Regions from separate parts of the Homo sapiens genome. Here region 1 is linked to region 2. The links are contacts of gene promoters, found by promoter capture Hi-C in blood cells and fetal thymus (Javierre and others, 2016). All regions are on one chromosome and are shown on one strand. Each heading gives the region's core, a stretch centred on a gene start or on the middle of the fragment in contact. The rest is flanking DNA. Distances are from core to core; before and after follow the strand shown. Region 1 holds the start of C8orf88 (chromosome 8 open reading frame 88). Region 2 holds the start of PIP4P2 (phosphatidylinositol-4,5-bisphosphate 4-phosphatase 2).

Region 1 (5,259 bases), core at 1,995-4,494, 56 kb after region 2:
GCTTGTTCTTTCACCTGCAAGGAATACCCTTTTCTAAGTGGGTAAATGTTTTATCCTTAAAAATCCTGCTCAGGCATTACCTCCCCTGTGAACCCTTTCGTGATGTCTCTTCTCCATCCTCCTACCGTTCAACAGAAGTATGCCTTTCCATGTAGTCCTTCTTTTATTCCACGTAAACATTTCTACTACATATACTATCTTCTATTTCATATATAGGCACTATTATTAAGCTAGCGTTCTCTTCTTGCTAATTTTGCATCAGCCTTTCTCATCATATTTCAGTTTTTCTTTGTAACCTCAGTGTGTATCAGCCTTTCTCGTCGTATTTCAGTTTGTCTTTGTATCCTCAGTTTCTAGCACATAAACATAGGTCTTCAAAACCTTTGCTGAGCTGAACTGAGCTGAATGAAACTAAGTCATTATTATAGCTTTTAACACAGGGGTTTCTAACCACTGCCCTCCCCCAGACCCCAGACTGGTACTGGTCATTGGCCTGTTAGGAAACAAGCCACACAGCAGGAGGTGAGTGGCAGGTGAGTGACTGAAGCTTCATCTGCATTTACAGCCCCTCCCCATTGCTGGCATTACTGCCTGAGCTCTGCTGCCTGTCAGATCAACAGTGGCCCATAGGAGTGTGAACCCTATTGTAAACTGCACATGCGAGGGATCTAGGTCGTGTGCTCCTTATAAGAATCTAATGCCTGATGATCTGAGGTGAAACAGTTTCATCCCAAAACCATACCCCGCCCTTCCAGTCATCCACGAAACCAGCCCCTGGTGCTAACAATGTTGGGGACCACTGTTTTAACACATTCCTATAATAATTATGAGCATCTGTGTTGTGTGTTTGTTAGTGTATCCTTCATAAAATGCTTCGTAAATGTTTGAGGAATAAATGAATAAAAGGCGACTATTGGCAGGAGGTTGGCAAGGAAATCATTTGGTAAACATGAGATAATGCTACCTCTTCAGCTTTCTGAGTTGCCAGGCTTTCAGTGGCACCACCCAGATTTAACAATTAATTTACTGAGTTGAAATTGTCTGTTTGCATATCTGCACCCTCACTAAACAGCACATACCATGAGATCAAGTAACCAGTTTGTATGTGTGTGTGTGTAGTTCTAGGTACTGTGAAAGTGGAGTTAAATAAAATATGAAAATATAAGTTTAAATAAAACCTCTACTTATAAGTAGTAAGACACATTATAAATTATTATCCTTCTAACTGGGATATCTATTTCCACTGTTGCTTTTTCTCAATCCATTCTCCAATTCTTTGAGTGGCCAGAGCAGGGCAGGAAGCAGGGATGGGGGGCGGTGACCAAAGTAAATATTTACTTAGAATAAGAAAATCAGTGACAACAAATTACAGATTTTTAAAAAGATGATAAATACCACAAATATTTTAGAAATTCAGTAAAATGATATTTTAAATTAACTACCTGAACCATTGCTATGTTTTTCCTATATTTTTAGTTTTCATTTTTTTATTGCCTCATCATTTGACAGTAATTTTGTAATGCACTTTCCCTGGTGATAATGAATAATGTGGTAGTCTTTTCAAAGCAAAGTTAGTCAACATGTATTTTTTGTTATTGAAAGCTTAAAAAAGTTATTGCAGTTTCACAATTTGTTATTGGTAATAATGCCAATTTTTAGTATTGCTAAATTTGGGGAAACTCATCTTAAGGTTCTTAGGTGAACTCTGTGATTTCAGGGCACTTCAAGTTTTCTCAGGCAGTGACTAACCTTTAAGTTGCTAAAAGTCATTAACCTGTTTGTTGTCAAGTTCTTGTTGTAAAGGTATGAATTCTAGATTATCCTTGTAGATGCCAAAATTTTATGTCATTATCAATAAGATTTTGAAAAGTTTCGATATGTTTATATGGTTCATTTTTCTTCCTCAATTATCAAAAAATCAAGGAGTCTGTCTAGTCTAATTTCTCTCTTCCTCTCAATAAATTACTAATACTGATCTGAATTGGAATTCTTCCAATTTACATTTTTGTCACAATAGTTTCTACTGACTTCATACAGTGATATGCACAAAATAATTTTATTGTAAGATGTATATAAAATTATACATGCTTCATTGTTAAGTATATTCCTGAAGAAGAAAACTTCTGTTGTGACTAGATGGATGAGAACCACATCCTGCACTTAAGATTTTCTACATCTGGTGGTTGGAATATATTGATTCCACTGTGCAGACTTCTGGTGCCTCACCCCAAGGGATGCCCTTTTATCATGACCCATCTCTGACCCTGGACCCTAGGTCTCTGATGCCAGGCGAGTTGTCTCAGTGGATAGTAGGAGTGTTTCTGGAAGCCATTTCTAAACGGAGACAGCTCCAATAACTTGACTATACATGGAAGTGCTTGTGAAACTTCATACCTTCCAAAATGGTAAATCCTGATAGTGCCCCACTTAAAACCGTTCAGTGTTTGCCAGTGCATTTTCAACTGTCCTTTTGGTGCTTGGGGACGTGAGGGACTGCCACCTCCACGTCCCTCAGTACAAGCAGACAGTCCCCCTCTGGGGACACTCAAAGATAATGAAAAATTAGCAAAAGGATTGAAGGTGAAGATTAAAAAGAAATGATTCGGATGGAGTTGCCTTAATTCATTTTGTTCCTTTCAGGATGGCAGTCTGTGTGAAACGCTGTATCCCTGGTCTGAGGTAAACCAGGTCTCAAACATCTTCCTCCCTGCCAACCCGAATCCCGACACCCACTAAATGCACCAAGGGGAAAGCAGCGCCTGCCAGCAGCTCTGACGGGGGACAGGAGTAGGGTGGACTCAGTCGTCAGCACGACGGCGGCCTCCCTCACAGAGGCGGCCTCCCTCACAGACGCTGCCTGGAACCCGCCGCCAAGCCCCCAGCAGGCGGCCCGCCTGGCGCCTCCCAGTCTTCGCACAAGCAGGGCCACGGTCTGGGGCCCCCAAGGCCGTTCACGCGGGCGCGCCCCGTCGAGGGCTAGCCTGTCAGCGCCTCACTCGCGGCCTCCTACCCTAGACGACCGGCTCTGGGTGGCGCCGCTCCAACCCCACGCGCCCAGCTCGCCCGGGAAAGCGCGCGCCACCCTTTTAACGGTTCTACCCCGGCAGGGGTGCGGCTGCTCTCGAGGCTCAGCGCCCGAGGCCACGCCCCGCGCCCGCCCTGGGCCCGCCTCGTGCCCCTCGGAGCCGCCTCCCGCCCCGCCCCCCGCCCCTCGCCCCCCGCCCCTCGCCCCCCGCCGCCGCCACCGCGGTCAGCCAGCGGACCAGCGGCAGGAGCCGTTCCCCGACGGGCAGCAGGGCGCTCGGCCTCCGCGTGTGGGCTGAGCGCGGCGACGCTGCTGCCCCGAAATCCCCGTGGATTTTGAGTCGGTAAGTGGCTAGGGAGGATGAGCGACACTGGGGGACGGAAGTCGGGCCCCGTGGTGTGGAGGAGGCGGGTGGGCGCCGTCTCCCAGGCCCGACCCCGGGAAAGTTGAGGCGAGGAAGAGAAGCTCTGAGGTGGGTCGGGAAATCTCTCAGGGCCCCTTCAGTACCCTGTGGACCCTGAATGGGAGTGGGATGGGAGCGAGAGCGTCGGATGAGGGGAAAGAAAGTGTAGGGGGCCAGGGGAGCCCGACGGAGGGGCAAGTGGCCGAGACCAAAGCCATCGCCAAAAAAGGAGCTAAGTACACAGCTCCCCTTGGCTCTGCCCCAGCACCTGGTGCCAGGCGGTGGGAGGCTTTCAAGACGATTTGCCCCCTCCACCCGGTGGCACAAGGTTTTCATTGCTGGTGTTTTAGTCAAAGCTACGGAAAGGACAGTTACATGACTAAAGTAATCACAGACACCTATTACCTGGACAGCTTTAGCCCATCCGAATGTTAAATTGTGTTTTGTTTTGAGAAATCCCTCAAATAGACCAAAAAAAAAATTAAATTAGTTATAAAGAGAAGGCATGAAATGGAAGATATGTTGGAACTCTCCAAGCTTCTAGTTTTTTGATATTTTCGTTTTAATTTTTCCTTAATAGTGCAACCAGATATATGGAACGTGAAATGTCTTTCACCACTTGAGTCATAGGTGGTTTATTTCTTACTCCCCGATGTTTCCTGTATGTTTCTCTTCATCTATCATTTTGTCAGTGTGAGCAGTTTACTTACAAGCAGTATTGGGTTTCAAGGAATCCTAACTTTGTAATGTTTTGAAGTTGGAAATTGAGATGAAATTTTATCTGGTTATCATATGGGAATTATACACAAGGTAAATTCAAATATGGTCTTTTCATTTCATTATTTCACTTTATATGATCTTATTTCTCAACGGCAGCGGTAGCATCAGTACTTTCCAAAGAAGACTAGAATTTATATTGGAGTTTAAGTATAGTACTCAGCTTCTAAAAACAGTGCATAGTATATTTCATATGCTGTGATCTATGGTTAGTATGGCAGTATACCATGTCTGTAGCGTGAGGAAAGCACAGTACTCCCTAATTTATTTAGTATTCTAAGAAAAATGGTAAATTGAAGAAATGGATATTATTAGCATATACCAATTTATTCTGCATGGCCTTATAAATAAATGTTACTTTTCACATTAATTTTTAAATCTATACACGCAGTGTCCACATGTAATAAATGGACAGTCAGATATCTTTCTTTTATGTAACAAATAGGCAAGTTTTGATATAAAGGTGTGAACTTTGTAGTCAAATCCTAATATCTAGCACTTAGTAGCTATGTGGACTTGGGCATGTCTCTTATTTTTCTGAGCCTCAGGTTTCTTATCTGTGAAGTGGGACTAATAATAATTTTCTTCCACCGTTCATATATGGCTCAAAATTAAATGAAATTATATTTAGTATGTAGTAGGACCTTAAAAAGGCATCTTAATTAAAAAATAAGATTAATAAGATTTTGGCCAAAGTGGTCAATGTATCTGCTTATTATCCCATTGTATTTTAGACAATTCTAGGTTTACTGGTAATATCAGGACTGATAAGGCCTGAAGATTCATACTTAGGTAAATTTTTTAAAAAGAAAAGGAACCTAAGATATAGTTAGTATTGCCAGGTGTAGAATAGCAACTGTAAATAACTAACTGATTTACCAATATTCTATTCATACAACTTGGTCTTTAAAGATGATTTGTTAAGTGTGTGTGATCTTGAAAAAAACTATTCAGCAACCATTTCTCAGTATGTATTAATAGAAAGTTTTTTTGGAGACATTGGATCAAAATATCCTTTAAAAAACATTTATACCACAAAACTATACATTTACAT
Region 2 (4,807 bases), core at 199-2,698:
TTTAATTTGTTTTCATATTCATGTAAACTACTTTTGGATAATATGACAAACCACCAAATAAAAAAGAAAAGAAAAACATATAAAACATGGCAAGAACTGTGTTTTTAAAGAAAAAAGTTATTCAGTGATTCTTGTCAAAGCATGGTAAGGAAGACTGTATTTAGGGCTATAGTGATAGGTATAGGGACCATGGCAGCAGGGTCTTGCCATGTTGAAGAAGAGATTAGGCTCAATTCTGAATGCAGCATGGACAAGTGGGAATTTATAGCCTAGGAGCATGCAGGACAGGGGCAGTAGATGGAAAATTACCAAGGAAATATCAGGGATAAGGGGGATTCTGACTAAACCAAGCAAACGGGATTCTTGCTGAAGACAGAACAGGAGTTCAGGCCTCACATGGGGGATGCTGGAGGATGAGGAACCTGATCAAATATCAATATTGAGAATGGGGCTTCTTGCTAAATTAAGTTAGTAGGGTTCTTTGCTAAAACTGGATTTTATAAGGAAGTGCAGATGGGCCCAGCATAAGATTCAGAAACCTTACTTGTTTGACCAAGCAAAGAATCTTTGTCAGTGCTTAGGGTTTTTTGTGTTTTAACTCTGTTTTACAAGTAAACGATTATTTTAAAACTTTTGTCTCAAGAAACTTGTTTTTCGTTGTTTGACGTTATTCATAAACCTACTTACTGTATATGTGTCAGGGACAATAGGCTACAAAACCAAAACTAAGATGACAACCTATTTTGTAAAATGAAACTTGTAAAAGGCAACACACTGCATAGTTCCAAAAAGGTACTGTTACCAGAGTTCCAAACCGGTCAGGCCAACATTCCTGTTGTTAAAAAAAATCAATCAGGAAAAGTAGGGAATGCTGACACTTCCGCAAAGATCTACTTTCTCTTAGATAACAGATGTTGAAAACTGATTTCCCACAAAAAAACCCTAGAGGAATTGATAACCCCAGGAAGATGTTTTCTTTATATAACTGCTGCAAAGTTTGACAGCAAAGAGTCAGTCCCTCCTCCTCCTTAGGGGAGATAAACTTGATAATCTGCTTTTGCTCCAGTTTTCTTGTAATCAAGTCACAGGCCTTTCCTCTTCGCTAGCCCCTTTCAGGCTGCTTTTTATCCGTCTTTCCTAGAGCAAAGGACTTGTCCCCCTCCATCCCATTTACTCTCGACCCCCTTTCAGTTACTTGGCATCTTCTTTTCCTCGCGTTTCCCAGTTGGTCCTAATTTGTTCCCCTTTTCTCTGGCTGGCTGGGCTCCCGCTCCTCCACTGCTGCTCCTCCCACTCTGCGGGTTCTTTCTTTCTCCCTCCCCTCCCCTCCCCCAGCCATGCCTCCCAGCGCGCTTCCCTTCCCCCGCCTCCTGGTCCTGCACCCTCCCCTCCCCTCCCCCCGCTTCCTGCCTTGTGACACATCCCGGGCCCTCCCGGAGGCGGCAGCAGCAGCAGCTGCAGCGGCAGCAGCGGCAGCAGAGGCAGCAGCAGTAGCCACCACTCCGCCGAGGCCGCAACCCCGGCTCGGCCTCCCCAGGCCCCGCCGCTGCCGCAGTCATGGCTGCTGATGGGGTGGACGAACGCTCGCCTCTGCTGTCAGCATCCCACTCCGGAAATGTCACTCCCACCGCCCCACCGTACTTGCAAGAAAGCAGCCCCAGAGGTAAGGCCAGCGTAGATCCCTCTACTTTGCAAGGAAGTAGATTTGCAAGGAAACGCCCAGAAGGATAAAGACCTGGGAGCTCTAGCTTGGAGGTGGAGGTGAGCCTCTCGCTTGGGCTGAGGAAGGATGCTGACTGTGCCTTCCCAGGCAAGCCCGCCTGCCTGATAGCTTCTCCGCAGGGTTTTTCTGGTGGTGGTGGTGATGGTGGTGGTGGTGGTGGTGGTGATGGTGGTGGTGGTGGTGGTGGTGATGGTGTGTGTGTGTATTTCACCACTTCTTACCCAGGGCTACAGTATGTGACATGAATTTCCCAAGCTCTGCTTAGCTGTTTTCAGAACAGCCCCTAAGCGCAGCTAGGAGGTGGTGCAAATCTTTCACAATCATTCACAAATCTTTTTCCGTTGCTGAGAAACCAGGAGTATTGCTCACCTTGGCATCTGTCCTTGAAAGGGCTTTAGCTTGAACAATATGCTTCTGCTACCATTCACCCAACAGTGCTCTGTTCACTCAGTGAATTGCCATATCCAAAATGAATACAGTTAATCAATATTCCTAATATGTCTGAAATTCCTGCCCCTCCTTTTTACTCCTACTTTCAAGGAGTATGTGTTAGATTTAATTGTGAATGAGAAGGAAGGACCTTACTTCTCATAGAAGGGAAGATGGGATATTTTTAACACATATCTGGGTGAGATTGAAATTAACTTGTAAAAAGTAACCCAAATTAATAATACATATATTTCTATTTTTTTCTCAAGAAGAATAAAAAAAGATTAAATGCAATGGGATCTGGAGAAATATGGAATCTATTTACCATACTATTCGATTTATTTAAAAATCGATCGTTGTTCTAAGCCTTTTAGTTGATTACTATAGTAAATAAATAAGGTGGAGTCAGGCGTTACAAGAAAATGGAAGGCAAGACTTAAAAAAACCCACTTAGGTTAGTGAAAAGATTGGTCAAAATGGCACTTGCAAATGTTCCTTAAGTGCATCTCTCTCTTTTTTTGGCTAAATATGAGCAAAGTTTAAAAACCCAAGGAAGCAAAAGTTAATGATTTTGAAAATATAAGTAGGTAATGTTTCTTGTAATACAAGTTTTTAAGTTCAAGTCTGGAATTAGAGCTGATGTAGAGCAGGTTGAACTTGCTTAGTATTTAAAATTTCTATTTAACATTTTGTAACTTCAAAATAAACTATCTAGATCTTAATCCATACTTAACAAGAAGAAAAACAAAGGAAAAAGATGCTTAGCTGTAAATAATTCAGTGTGAGCCATGGCTTGAGAAATAAGGCACAGAGAGAGACTTGCCCACAGAAAACCTACAGGTCATTTTTGTTGGTCAGCATTAAACTTGTATCAGAGGACACCAGGCAAGAGAATTTCCTCTAATGGGCCAATTTGATATGAATATTTTACTGTTATCTAAATCGTATTATGTAGAATAGACTTAAACACTCACTAATGAATGTTTCAACTTCATCAAGTCAGCCTTTTATGGCAAAATGTTTGGCGGTTTATTAGGAGACAAAGTTTCAATTTAAGTATTTGTCCTATAACCTATTTTCATGCCCTCAACTAGTGGATAAGTTATTTTTTAAAAATGGCTACACTCAGGGATCAGCTTATAGACATCTTTATTATTTTCCATATATTTGTTTAACCTAATAAGATTCCTCAAACTACACAAGTATAAGTTCCAGTTCAGCCACTGAGAAAAAGTAGTGTCATTGTAGAAAACTTTTAACAACCAGAGAAATTCAATGACTTAGCAAAAAGCTGCTTCTGCCTTATGGTAGAATACATTTTTTCTTAATTGGTGAATGAGACAGGTTAGATGATTAGAGAAACTCTTAATTTCATATGACATAACACCTACTAAGGAAGAAGCATAAATGAGAGGTAAAAGCATTTTATTTGCATTTTGACAGAATATTTTTCTTCATAAGTAACAAACATTGTAATAAATATTATGAGTAATACACAAGATCTGGAAGACCACCACTATTCATTCATTTATTAATTTATTGGGAAGCACAATGTGCCATACACTGCTCTAGGGGAACAAGAGTGATCAATCCCATACCCTCATGAAGACTATATTGTATTAGGGAGAAAGAATAAATAAATACATGGCTGAATTATTTCAGATTGTAAAAAAAATTCTATCACTAGATCAGATGTTTTTGGTAGTTGAAAACCGTTAGGGTTGACAGTTGGAATTCAATCAGAAACAGAATGCACTTTCTGATAATGAATTTTAGTTAATGATCCCATTTACAATTATTCAGACTTTTATTTTTTTAAAAAAAGAAGTTAAAAGCTATAACTAGTGAATATTTTCTCCAATCTGACCCCTTTCTCTTTCTTTTACCTTCTAAAGTACAGGAATGTTAGTTCCCACCTCCAAGATGAAATAGTCCATTTCAGGTTGAAAGTCGGTGGAGTGTTTATTTCTAGACAGATTATTAATAATGTAGCAGGGAGCAGTTAGTATTGTGTGTTTGGTTTTAGCACAAGAAAAATCATGTGTGGTCTGTGTAACAATCCATGTTGGTTTCTAAGTGGAGCATGTCTAGTGTTCTCTACTGTCAGTATTGGATTCATGCATAGGAAATTGCTTCTCTCCTGCTTGCAGTGCTTCGTTTAATATACTTGCCAGTTTTTGTTTAGGTATAGAAATTAAAATTAAAGAGAGTTTTAGGCTCATCTGAAAGGAGATTGGAAGAAATACCACAAAATTTACACAGTTTTGATGTATTAATTGATTCCTTTATACATCTGCTAATTTTGTAGTTAGGATATAACAAAAGAATATGACCTTTGAATTTATAAGATTTTTTCTGTGAAAATTGTTTATATCTGGGGTTGTCTCATTATGTATTCAATATGGAAATGGGATTATATACTTCACTATAATTCATAAAGGGAAAATAATAATTTGTTATACAGAGGCAGACAGTTTGATTTACTTAGTTTATTATTCAGCAAATAAATATTTGAGTACCAGCCAAATCTGTGGTAGGAGAAGAAAAATAGTCATGGCTCCTCTTCCAGTGTAGTGGGGGTATTGAGAAATAAATTATGTAATCACACAAACAGATGCAAAATGCAATGGTGATGAAGACAGTGCTGGAAATATA

The links. The method cuts DNA at HindIII sites, captures the fragments that hold promoters and counts their contacts. A CHiCAGO score of 5 or more calls a contact.
Region 1: the fragment with the promoter of C8orf88 here is called in contact with the fragment with the promoter of PIP4P2 in region 2 in 17 of 17 cell types (naive CD8 T cells, fetal thymus, monocytes and 14 more); the score reaches 11.9 in naive CD8 T cells.

Annotation. Positions count from the first base shown.
Region 1 is chr8:90,983,223-90,988,481 of GRCh38, reverse strand. It overlaps C8orf88 (chromosome 8 open reading frame 88), which reads left to right and starts at 3,244. Exons shown (of 6, transcript NM_001190972.2): 1 at 3,244-3,368. RefSeq lists a silencer at 3,061-3,220. The HindIII fragment of the contact is 2,363 bases long and covers 1,605-3,967 here.
Region 2 is chr8:91,037,500-91,042,306 of GRCh38, reverse strand. PIP4P2 (phosphatidylinositol-4,5-bisphosphate 4-phosphatase 2) reads left to right here and starts at 1,448. Exons shown (of 7, transcript NM_018710.3): 1 at 1,448-1,663. The coding sequence starts at 1,558. RefSeq lists a silencer at 1,227-1,426. The HindIII fragment of the contact is 15,293 bases long and covers 1-4,807 here.